3 separate regions of the Homo sapiens genome follow, and regions 2 and 3 are each linked to region 1. Evidence: promoter capture Hi-C in 16 types of primary human blood cells and fetal thymus (Javierre and others, 2016). All regions are on one chromosome and are shown on one strand. The core of a region is centred on a gene start or on the middle of the fragment in contact, and the rest is flanking DNA. Distances in the headings are between cores, read along the strand shown. Region 1 holds the start of PCDHB1 (protocadherin beta 1). Region 2 holds the start of PCDHB6 (protocadherin beta 6). Region 3 overlaps PCDHA1 (protocadherin alpha 1).

What was found. The method cuts DNA at HindIII sites, captures the fragments that hold promoters and counts their contacts. A CHiCAGO score of 5 or more calls a contact.
Region 2: the fragment with the promoter of PCDHB6 here is called in contact with the fragment with the promoter of PCDHB1 in region 1 in 4 of 17 cell types (M2 macrophages, M1 macrophages, M0 macrophages and 1 more); the score reaches 7.1 in M2 macrophages.
Region 3: a fragment that was not itself captured here is called in contact with the fragment with the promoter of PCDHB1 in region 1 in 3 of 17 cell types (M1 macrophages, M0 macrophages and endothelial precursors); the score reaches 6.5 in M1 macrophages.

What each region holds. Positions count from the first base shown.
Region 1 is chr5:141,048,865-141,052,811 of GRCh38, forward strand. PCDHB1 (protocadherin beta 1) reads left to right here and starts at 2,510. Exons shown (of 1, transcript NM_013340.4): 1 at 2,510-3,947. The coding sequence starts at 2,607. It overlaps PCDHB1-AS1 (PCDHB1 antisense RNA 1), which reads right to left. Exons shown (of 4, transcript NR_105056.2): 3 at 2,015-2,306. It also overlaps PCDHB@. RefSeq lists an enhancer at 2,091-2,919. The HindIII fragment of the contact is 4,524 bases long and covers 1-3,830 here.
Region 2 is chr5:141,147,785-141,151,435 of GRCh38, forward strand. PCDHB6 (protocadherin beta 6) reads left to right here and starts at 2,273. Exons shown (of 1, transcript NM_018939.4): 1 at 2,273-3,651. The coding sequence starts at 2,474. It also overlaps PCDHB@. The HindIII fragment of the contact is 6,099 bases long and covers 1-3,651 here.
Region 3 is chr5:140,934,552-140,938,368 of GRCh38, forward strand. The region is part of intron 1 of PCDHA1 (protocadherin alpha 1); the gene reads left to right. The region is part of intron 1 of PCDHA2 (protocadherin alpha 2); the gene reads left to right. The region is part of intron 1 of PCDHA3 (protocadherin alpha 3); the gene reads left to right. All of the region lies in intron 1 of PCDHA4 (protocadherin alpha 4), which reads left to right. It also overlaps PCDHA5, PCDHA6, PCDHA7, PCDHA8, PCDHA9 and PCDHA10, and 5 more genes. Among named protein-coding and RNA genes, the nearest start is that of PCDHAC1, 10 kb to the left of the region's middle. The HindIII fragment of the contact is 499 bases long and covers 1,925-2,423 here.

The DNA.
Region 1 (3,947 bases), core at 1,260-3,759:
GGTCAGGCTCATCTTGAACTCCTGACCTCATAATTGGTCTGCCTCGGCCTCTCAAAGTGTTGGGATTACAGGCGTGAGCCACCACGCCCAGCCAGTACAACTTCTTAGAAAGCAGTTTGGTGACATCACGTAAAGCTGAAAAGAACATATCCTATGATATCAATGCTACTTCTATGTATATATTCCCCCCCAAAATATGTGTATACATGTGCACAAAGTGACACGTACAATGATATGCTATGAGCAGCAGAATAATAAAATAGGTAAATGCATTTTGCTGCATTCATACTGAAAAAGACAAAAGCAGTCCACGAGAGCTAGGAGCTGGCCTGACACTCACAGCTAGGACATAGTGATCTTCTGTTGAACAAAAAATGATTTCATAGGACACCAGTATCAGACAAGGCCATACCATGACTATGATGGAGCAAGAGGAAAATGAGAGCACACCATAAGTGTGTCTAAATACAGACAAAAAAGAGTATTGTCCAATCCACAAAAATGCCCAAACATCTTTCTGTCCTGGCTAGTATTAGTCACTTCAGCTTACTTACCAATCACAGAGTTAGCCTCACCCCTTTCCTCTCACCTTCTACATAAGAATTATCAATATACTCATCATAGAGTTAACTCCACTTATGATGACATCCAATCCAGAGCACTCTGCTTCAAACCTCCCCCAAATCATCTAACACAAGACCAAATATATGTTCTTTCTAACACCGTTTCACTGAGATGCTCCATGACTCTCTATGGTGTACAGCTTCCCTTGTTATAATAAGTCAGTAAATATAACTTTGTTCAACTACAGGTGTGTGTCTGATGGTCTCTAGCTAAAGGACATTGACAATATATTGGTATTTTATACGGTAATGGAAATAAATGAACTAGAGCTAAAGATAACACCAATCTTACATTGAGCTAAAAAATGAGGGAAAGAAACAAAATTCAAAGGATTACCTACTGTACACTTTACTTGATACATAGTTTTGTTTTATTTCTACTCATACTCAAGTAAGATATATAGTTTTCAAAAGAGGCAAAACTAAACTGTTTAAGGATGCACACTTAAGCCAGGTGTTAAAATAACTGACAGAGATTGAGAGATTCATTAATTCCCTCATGTCAGGATGTAATTAATGTTCTGTACACTTTCTACTTTCATTCTTTTTTTCCTATTGGAAAATATAGTTAGATTTCCGTTAAGTGGCCATAATTTTATAGCACCTGGGACATAAAGTATTGAGCACAAATGAGAAATCAAATGTTTTAGGTAATGAGCATGAGACAGCATCAGAAGACAAGTTCTAGTTCTTACACTGCCATGAGTAGCTGTATGAATTGGGCAAGTGACTTCATCACTTCGGGCCTTAGTTTCTTCATCTGTTTTTTTTTTTTTTTAAAGTGGAGAGTGGGTGAGAAGGAGACTGGATCTCATCTTTCTGAAATGTCTTATTAAACATTCTATTATCCTATGATCATAAAGGAAACTCAACAAATATCTCCTATATTTCTATTAGGTCATTTTCAATATGTGTAAGCAATCTTATTTTATTTGCTTTAAAATCCAAAACCAAATATTTATCTTCATTTGATTTATTCATTATATTATCTGGGAAGCAGAGTAGTGTACTGATTAAGAGCATAGACTTCGGAGTCAGACAAAATTAAATTGAGTTTTATTTCTAACATTTGCTAGGTAGGGGACCTTGACATAACCTCTCCCATCTCACTTTCTTTGTCTTTTTTTTTTTTTAATAATGTCTACTCCATATAGTTGTTGCAAGTATTAAATTAAATAATGCATGTAAATCACTTGTCATAGTCTCAGTACATGGAAATCATATCCAATAAATACTACTGCCATTATAATCATAAGTGACAAGCCAGCTGCTCCCTTTGTGCACGTGTATACAGATATTTGGAGGGGGGCGGAGCGAATACGTAGAAGTAGCATGATAGCGTAGTGCAAATCAAGAGGTCAGTTGGCTTAGTCCCCTGTCAGTGTACTTACTGGACCTCAAGTTTCTGAAGGAGAATGTCTGTTCCCATTCCTTTTCCTACTGACCACTTCCTCCACATTCTCTAGCTCCCTGCCTCATATATTTGGCTTGGGCTTCGGAAGACTCTGCAGGATCCTTGTGCTTCTTTCTTGGTCTCTGGATGGACCGCAGAGTGTGCAGATGTAGCTTAAACTTGTTGCTGTTCGCCCACAGCTTCAGTGGCTCCAGACAGCTAGCAGATAGAATGACTTCAGCTTGAACGACTAATCTCATTGGCTTCTCAATTCCCAAGGACTTTTTTTCCTGAAAGGGAATTAACAGGTGAGTCTGTTGTTGCTTTGGCAACAAACTTTCAACCTCTACCTAACTCTCCGGAATGAGAACATATCTATTAATACATTCGCTAGACTGGGGAGTTGAGTCGCTCAATGCAAATTTTCTTTCAAGTGCAAAACAGCTTAATGGGCTCGGCTAGCCTTTGGTGGTGCTGCAGTTAGAGGCTAGTGAAGCGGAGAGCAGCTGTTGCAGTAACCTGTTGCAGAAAAGTGAAAGTATATCCGCAACAGTTGGCTCTGATTGCAGAGAGCGCGCTTGTGAGAACTGATGGCGGGTACGCGCAGAAAATCTTTGCAAAACAGGCAAGTGGGATCTCTTCTCATTTTTCTGTGCATATCTGTGGGGGATGCGACAACTATCCGCTATTCAGTGGCAGAGGAAATGGAGAGCGGCTCGTTTGTGGCCAACGTAGCTAAGGACCTAGGACTGGAGGTAGGGAAGCTGGCTGCGCGCGGGGCGCGGCTGGTTTCCGAGGGCAACAAAATGCATTTCCGGCTCCACCGCAAGACGGGAGATTTGTTTGTGAAGGAGAAACTGGATCGGGAGTCACTTTGTGGCAAAGCCGACCCTTGTGTTCTGCACTTTGAAGTAGTCCTGGTGGAGCCGCTGCAGTCCTTCCGGGCCGAGGTCAGGGTATTTGATATCAATGACAATGCCCCAGTTTTCCTAAACAAGGAGCCGCTTTTAAAGATTCCGGAGAGCACCCCTTTGGGTTCACGTTTTCCTCTGCAGAGCGCCCAGGATCTGGACGTGGGCCTTAACGGTCTCCAGAACTACACCCTGAGTGCCAATGGGTATTTCCACCTGCACACCCGCTTCTGCAGCCACGGGCCTAAATATGCTGAGCTGGTGCTGAACAAACCCCTGGACCGAGAGGAGCAGCCTGAAGTCAACTTGACAATTACGGCGGTGGACGGCGGGTCCCCGCCTAAGTCTGGCACAGCTCACATCCACGTGGTGGTTCTGGATGTCAACGACCACGTGCCCCAGTTCTCGCGACTGGTGTACAGAGCCCAGGTATCAGAGAACAGCCCCAATGGCTCTTTGGTGGCCACGGTGACTGCCGTGGACCTAGACGAGGGCACCAACAAAGCGATAACTTACTCTTTAGCTCAAAACCCAGAAGCAATTCTCAAGACGTTTCAGATTGACCCTCAAAATGGAGAAGTTCGACTAAGAGGACCCCTCGATTTTGAAGCCATTGAAACATACGACATTGACATTCAAGCTACAGATGGTGGAGGCCTCTCTGCCCACAGCAAAGTCCTGGTAGAAGTGGTGGATGTGAATGACAATCCTCCCGAAGTGATGGTCTCCTCTGTGTCCAGCCCACTCCCTGAAGACTCACCACCACAGACAGTAGTAGCCCTTTTCACTATCAGAGACCGGGACATTCGAGTGGGAGGAAAAGTCACCTGCTTCCTCAGAGAAGACCTTCCCTTTGTAATCAAACCTACATTTGGGAATTCTTACTCACTGGTCACTGACAGAAGCTTGGATCGGGAGGAGGTCTCAGGCTATAATATCACCATTGTTGCCATGGATACTGGACCACCTAGCTTGTCTGCCGAGACTATGATAGAGGTGCTAATATCCGACGTTAATGAC
Region 2 (3,651 bases), core at 1,023-3,522, 99 kb after region 1:
CATCATGTGTCCAGATGAGACCAAGGTTTTGCTCCCCAGTTAACAAAACTGAGCTTCAAAATATGATTAAGATGATTTCCAGTGAATGATGAAAATGTTCCGTATCTTGAAAAAAGTGTGAGTTACACACATGAATCCATTTGTTAAAATGGTACAGTTAAGATTGGTGCATTTCAATTTCTGTAAACATTGCCTTAAGAAAAGAACTATACAAAAGTAATCATTAAGCGGGAAGCAGAGAATGGAGAGAAAGGTATAGACAAAACAAGACAACAGAATGTTGTGAAACTGATTGTGTACAGAGGCTTATTCTGTTTACTTTGTATATGTTAGAATTTTTCCATAATAAAAATTTTAAGTTAATGAGTCCTTGTGAGAACATGTTTACGAATGCAAACTTAATTCAACTCTACTCTAGTCAATCAAATCAAAGCAAAAGAGGGCAACACAGAGAAACATTCTCCTGAAACAATCTAACGTAATCCATTTTCTATAAAAAGGCAGTTTCTTGATAGACCCAACTGATATCTTTTTGGGGTACTTTGAGCTATTATCCTCTTTCTATATAACTACCAATGTTATCAAAGACATTTCAAGGATCTAAATGGAGTTTGACAAATACTGTACTGCTGATAAATTTGCTCTGACGTAAAAAAATAATTCAACAACCTATATTCGAGGATGCCTGGTGGTGCTTCAGAGAAACAGAGTGAATAAAAGACTTTGTGGATGCCGTTAAGCTGGAATCAGAACTCAGAATGCTCACCGAAAGAAGGAAGCATTTAAGATTGAGCAGGAAATAATGGCCTTGTTTCAGCAAAGAGATGACACCAGTCCAATATGTTTATTATTGTTGGTTTATTTCATAATTTCATTTTGTTACATTCTCAAGGAACAGTGTGTTCCCAGTAGCATCTATCAAGTGAACCCTGGAGGCTGGTCACATTCATAATCTTTTGTTTTTCTGGCTACATAGAGGTGATTTTGAACTACAAGATCATCTCAGCTATTCAGAGTTTAGATTTTATTTAGCCTTATTTGTTTTGCCTAGCATTTATGTATTTGAAAATATCTTGATTTTTAATCTTCTATCACCTTGGCCCTTACCTGAAGTGAACTTTGTTTGAACTCAATTGATTTCACCTCTCAATAAATATGAAATTAATCTGAAATGAATTGAATTGTTTGGCATATTTTACCTCTTCTATGTGCACTAATCTATTTCACACATTTTCAGTTTGTTTAGAGATACATGTTCCAATGTATCTGAGTAGAAACTAGTGAGATGGGAATGGATATAGCCATAATATTCCATCATTGAATTCCATGGCATTCACTCAAATGTAACTCACCTGTTTTAACAGTACCTTAATTTGGCCTGTATTTATTGGACTTGGTGTTCTTTTTGCTGTGAGAAGACGGTGAAGGTGATTCTTGAATGTTTGTTTTCTGTGTTGCATCATGTTTGTACAACACGGTAATATATTTGGACCTTGATTAAATAATGTAAGAGGGGAATTTGATCAAAAAATAAAATGCACAAGACTGTTAAAACAATGTCTAATTCTATCCATGCAAAAATGGAGTAGAATCCTAAAATGCTTATGACAACTACTTGATTGCTTCTAGTCCCTCTTTTAAATACTTTAATTTACTTAGATACATGTATCATACGTACTTCTTGGCCTCAGTTTTCCTCCTAATAGCCTAATTGTTCTTTTTACTGTGCAGGCATAACTATATAACAAAGTAGGTTTTTTTTTTCATGCCATTTATGAGTCATATAATTTAGATAATTTATTGTTTATTTTACCATTATTGTTGCTAACAAACTTCGTTGTTTTGCATTGTTTGTTGGGACAATTAAATAGTGTACCTCTTGGACTAATAGATTAAATAGTTCATCAGAGATAAATTGCACTGCTGAAGCATCAAAGGAGAAAGACTGAAGTGTAGAATCTGCACTTCAATCTTTCTCCTTAATTAGCACCACCAGGGAATTTGATTCAAGTTCTAGAGGGGAGTGAACCCAGGAATTGGCTTAAAAACAAAAACATACACACAAAAAAACCAACGCTCGCAAGCAATTATTTATGCATGCGGTCCACGCACTCAGTTTGAGAAACACTGACTCGACTTAAAAGTCTTTATAATGCTCAGATTTCTGAAATGCTATTGACCTGAAAACATCTCATGAAGTTATTAGTTTGAACGCGTGGTGGCGGTACAAGCTAAGAGAGTGAATGAAAGCTCTGCAGACTCGGTGGACTCCGTTTCATCCAGAAGCCAAGTAAAAATACAGACCACGTTTACAGCTAAAGCTGAGATAGATGTGTCCGGGAAGGCAGTCGTCGCCAGACAAGTTGTAAGAACGAATTTAAAAATCTCTGCAAAGACATCCGAGAGGGTCGACGGTAGATGTGGTGATTGGGAGCTGAAAAGGATTTTTCTTCCGTATTCAGACATAATAGACATGATGCAAACTAAAGTACAGAACAAGAAAAGGCAAGTGGCTTTCTTCATTTTATTGATGCTTTGGGGAGAGGTGGGTTCTGAATCGATTCAGTATTCCGTATTGGAGGAGACAGAAAGTGGCACGTTTGTGGCCAACTTGACAAAGGACCTGGGACTGAGGGTGGGGGAGCTGGCTTCGCGGGGCGCTCGGGTTGTTTTCAAAGGGAACAGACAACATTTGCAGTTTGATCCACAGACCCATGATTTACTGCTAAATGAAAAACTGGACCGGGAGGAGCTGTGTGGCTCCACTGAGCCGTGTGTGCTACCTTTCCAAGTGTTACTGGAAAACCCCTTGCAGTTTTTTCAGGCTTCCTTGCGAGTCAGAGATATAAATGACCACGCCCCGGAATTCCCTGCCAGAGAAATGCTCCTGAAAATATCAGAAATTACTATGCCAGGAAAGATATTTCCTTTGAAAATGGCACACGATTTAGACACCGGCAGCAACGGCCTTCAGAGGTACACAATCAGCTCCAACCCTCACTTCCACGTTCTCACCCGCAATCGCAGCGAAGGCAGGAAGTTCCCGGAGCTGGTGCTAGACAAACCGTTGGACCGCGAGGAGCAGCCCCAACTCAGGCTAACGCTGATCGCGCTGGATGGCGGGTCTCCGCCCCGGTCAGGGACCTCCGAGATTCAGATCCAGGTTTTGGACATCAATGACAACGTCCCCGAGTTTGCTCAGGAGCTCTATGAAGCACAAGTCCCTGAGAACAACCCCCTCGGCTCTCTGGTTATTACCGTCTCAGCCAGAGATTTAGATGCAGGATCGTTTGGGAAGGTATCTTACGCCCTGTTTCAAGTCGATGACGTCAACCAACCCTTCGAAATAAACGCAATCACAGGAGAAATTCGGCTGAGAAAGGCTTTGGATTTTGAGGAAATTCAGTCTTATGACGTGGATGTTGAGGCTACAGATGGTGGAGGCCTATCAGGAAAATGCTCTTTAGTCGTCAGGGTCCTGGACGTGAATGACAATGCCCCTGAACTCACCATGTCGTTCTTCATCAGCCTCATCCCAGAAAACTTACCAGAGATCACAGTGGCAGTTTTCAGTGTTTCAGATGCAGACTCTGGACATAACCAACAGGTTATTTGTTCAATAGAGAACAATCTCCCCTTTCTACTAAGACC
Region 3 (3,817 bases), core at 924-3,423, 110 kb before region 1:
CTTCTTTTTTTTAATTAATTGTAACATTTCTGTAATGGGTCTTCAACTATTTGATTAGCCTGAGGTACAGTTCACACAGGAAAGGCAGGATAAATGTTTGATTCTTCCCCTTTGTTTAGCAGTATTCAAAACAATGAATTGATTCCTGGCCATCTTACAAAAAGGACCAAGGCCTTTTTTAGGTGTCATTATGAACTCATTGACTTAAACATATTTGATATGGCCCAATCCATGTCAATTATCTTTTTAATGATCAAATTATGCTAACTTTGGCAAGTTGGGAACTGTTCAGCTTTGCTCCTGAGTCTTTGTGAGTGTGTTTGTGTATCTTGTTTTAAACCTTTTATTTTGGAATAATTATGGATTCACATAAAGTTACAAAACTAGTATAGAGAGATCCCATGTGCTTGTCACCCACTTTTCCCCAGTGATAACACCCTGAATCCTTTTCATGTGAGTCTTAATAGTCTTTTGAATGCTTCCTTGATTTCTGGTATTACAAGATGTTCAGATTATCTTGTACATTTCCTTTCCCAGAATCAGCCATTTTTCAAAGAGCTTTCACTTATTTTTAGTGAAAGATGATACTTAGAGATATAATCTCAACAACAGGTGTGCTTATTGCTGCTGGGTCAGTTGCTGTTTCTAGGTATCTTCAGCTACTGAGCTAAGGGATGTCTATTTTTTAAAAGATAAAATACATCACATGTTTATACTAATCTAATAAAGTTCAGCACTCCGAGGTTTTTACTTAACTTCATCAATCTTACATTCCTATTTCTCCCATACGTCAAATCCCAGTTTTCATTAACGTCAACAGAATTACTCATTTGTTATCCCACGGGACTCAAACAATGGACTTAGAAAACAATTTCAGCACTACAGAAATAATATGATACTGTAGCAGTTTAAGTTTTTGTCATTCTTTTCATTTATAAGGCACATCCTTACAAATGCCCAGTAGGCATGTACAGTCAAATTATTGTGTTTTAAAGTATCTTGGAAAAGTTCCTCTCTGTGTAGTTAAGCCACCAGCTAGATACAGAGCTAGGCTTTTTTCAAGTCGCTTTCAAATTTAGGGCTTGCTTTTTAAATTTTAATTTTCTTTTATAATTATGTGAAATATTTACATGGCTCCAAAATAAACTTATAAAACAAAATATATTTAGAGAAGTCTAGTATCTATTATTCCATACAATACACATTCTTCCCCACTTTGAGTTTTTTCACTTAAAAATATAAACGAGATTATTTCATAGTAGTATAGTATTTACACATATTCCATACTGCTTAATGGTGTCTTTTGATTAGCAATTAATGAGCTCCAATTTATCAATATTATCTTTTTTTTTTTTTTTTGAGACAGATTCTCATTCTGTTGCCCAGGCTGGAGTAAAGTGGTACAATCTTGGCTCACTGCAATCTCTGCCTCCCGGGTTCAAGCGATTCTCCCACCTCAGCCTCCCGAGTAGCGGGGATTACAGGCACCCACCACCACACCCGGCTAATTTTTATACTTTTAGTAGAGACAGGGTTTCACCATGTTGGCCAGGCTGGTCTCGAACTCCTGACCTTAAGTGATCTGCCCGCCTTGGCCTCCTAAAGTGCTGGGATTAGAGGCCTAAACCACCACGCCCAGCCAAAGTTGTCTTTTTTATTTAGTATTCTTTCTATCCTTTTAAAGAAAACATATCCTGCTTCAAGTCATGAAGATATATTCCTGTGTTTTCTTCTATAACATTGCTATCCAATAGAACTTTCTGACATGCTATAAATTTTCTCTATCTGCATATATGGAATGTGTAGCTACTGAGCACTTGAAATGTGGCTAGTGAAACTGGGCTACTCAATTTTTAATGTTACTAATTTTAATTAATTTAAGCTTAAATAACCACATCTGTTTAGTGGTTGCTGTAGTTCTGGAAGCTTTCTTGTTTTAACTTGCACATTTAGATCTTAAATTACCTGAAATTGCTTTTGAATATAGTGCAATGTAGAAGTCAAGATTTATATTTTCCACTTGTAAATCCAGTTAGATTGCCTACTTTCCTCGCTGCTACTGTGCAGTGCTACCTTTGTCATAAGCAACGTGACTTTATATATTCTGTTTCTGGACTGTCTATTCTGTTTCATTGGTCAACTTGTCTATTCTTGTGCCAATACATTCTGTGTTAAATATAGTAACTTTTCATTTGTATTGATATCTAATTGTGTAAGTTCTCTCACTTTGTTATTCTGCTTCAAGATTAACTTAGCTATTTTTGGCCCTTTGCATTTCTATATAAATTGTAGATTCAGCTTCTCAGTTTCTATTTTAAAAAACCCTGCTTTGATTTTAATTGGCACTATATTGAATCTGTAGAAAATATGGGGTATATTGAAAATATCTTATTTTGATCTTTATTGAATCTATAAAAATATGAAGCTTGTTAACATTGACAATATTGAGACAGACAACCGATTAACAAGGTATATTCTTCCATTTATCTTTTTTTTTTTTTTTTGAGACGGAGTCTCGCTCTGTCGCCCAGGCTGGAGTGCAGTGGCGCAGTCTCGGCTCACTGCAAGCTCCGCCTCCCGGGTTCATGCCATTCTCCTGCCTCAGCCTCCCGAGTAGCTGGGACTACAGGCGCCCGCCACCATGCCCGGCTAATTTTTTGTATTTTTTGTAGAGACGGGGTTTCACCGTGTTAGCCAGGATGGTCTCGATCTCCTGACCTCGTGATTCACCCGCTTCGGCCTCCCAAAGTGCTGGGATTACAGGCGTGAGCCACCGCGCCCGGCTTCTTCCATTTATTTTATTATTTTATCTTAATGTTTATGTGTGTGTATGTGTATATAGGGGTATTGCACAACTTTTATTAGATAGCTGATATTTTAATGCTATTTTAAAAGTTTAATTTTATAATACAAAAATTAGCTGGACATGTTGGCACATACCCGTAATCCCAGCTACTCAGGAGGCTGAGGCAGGAGAATTGCTTGAACCTGCGAGGCAGAGGTTGCAGTGAGCTGGGATCGCGTCACTGCACTCTAGCCTGGGCAACAGAGTGATACTCCATCTAAAAAGAAAAAGAAAGGCAGGGCATGGTGGCTCACGCCTGTAATCCCAGCACTTTGGGAGGCTGAGGCAGGCGGATCACGAGGTCAGGAGATCAAGACCATCCTGGCTAACACGGTGAAACCCCGTCTCTACTAAAAATACAAAAAATTAGTCGGGCGTGGTGGCGGGCGTATGTAGTCCCAGCTACTCGGGAAGCTGAGGCAGGAGAATGGCATGAACCTGGAAGGCGGAACTTGGAGTGAGCCGAGATCGCGCCACTGCACTCCAGCCTGGGCGACAGAGTGAGACTCCGTCTCAAAAAAAAAAAAAAAAGTTTAATTTGATAATTGGCTTTTGTTGAAAGTATATAGAAATAATACTGATTTTATGTTAACTTTGTATCCAATGTTCTTGCTAAATAGTAAAATCTCATATTTTTATATTTTGGGTTTTCTACATATACTGTCATGCTATTCCCAAATAATGTTAGTTTTATTATTGTATTTTTTACTTTCTCTCTTTTTTTAAAAAAATAGAGATAGAGTCTCACTACATTGCCCAGGCTAGTCTGGAGCTCCTGGGCTCAAGCAATCCTCCCACGCCAGCCTCCCAAAGTGCTGGGATTACAGGCATAGGCCACCATGCCTGGTCTTTTAAAAACTTTCTAATCACATAGTTTTCTTGCTTTCTGTCATTGCCTATGAAATTCAGTATAAAATTGAATAGAAGTAATGTTAATGGATAATCTTGTCTTATTCCTGGTCTCAGAGAGGA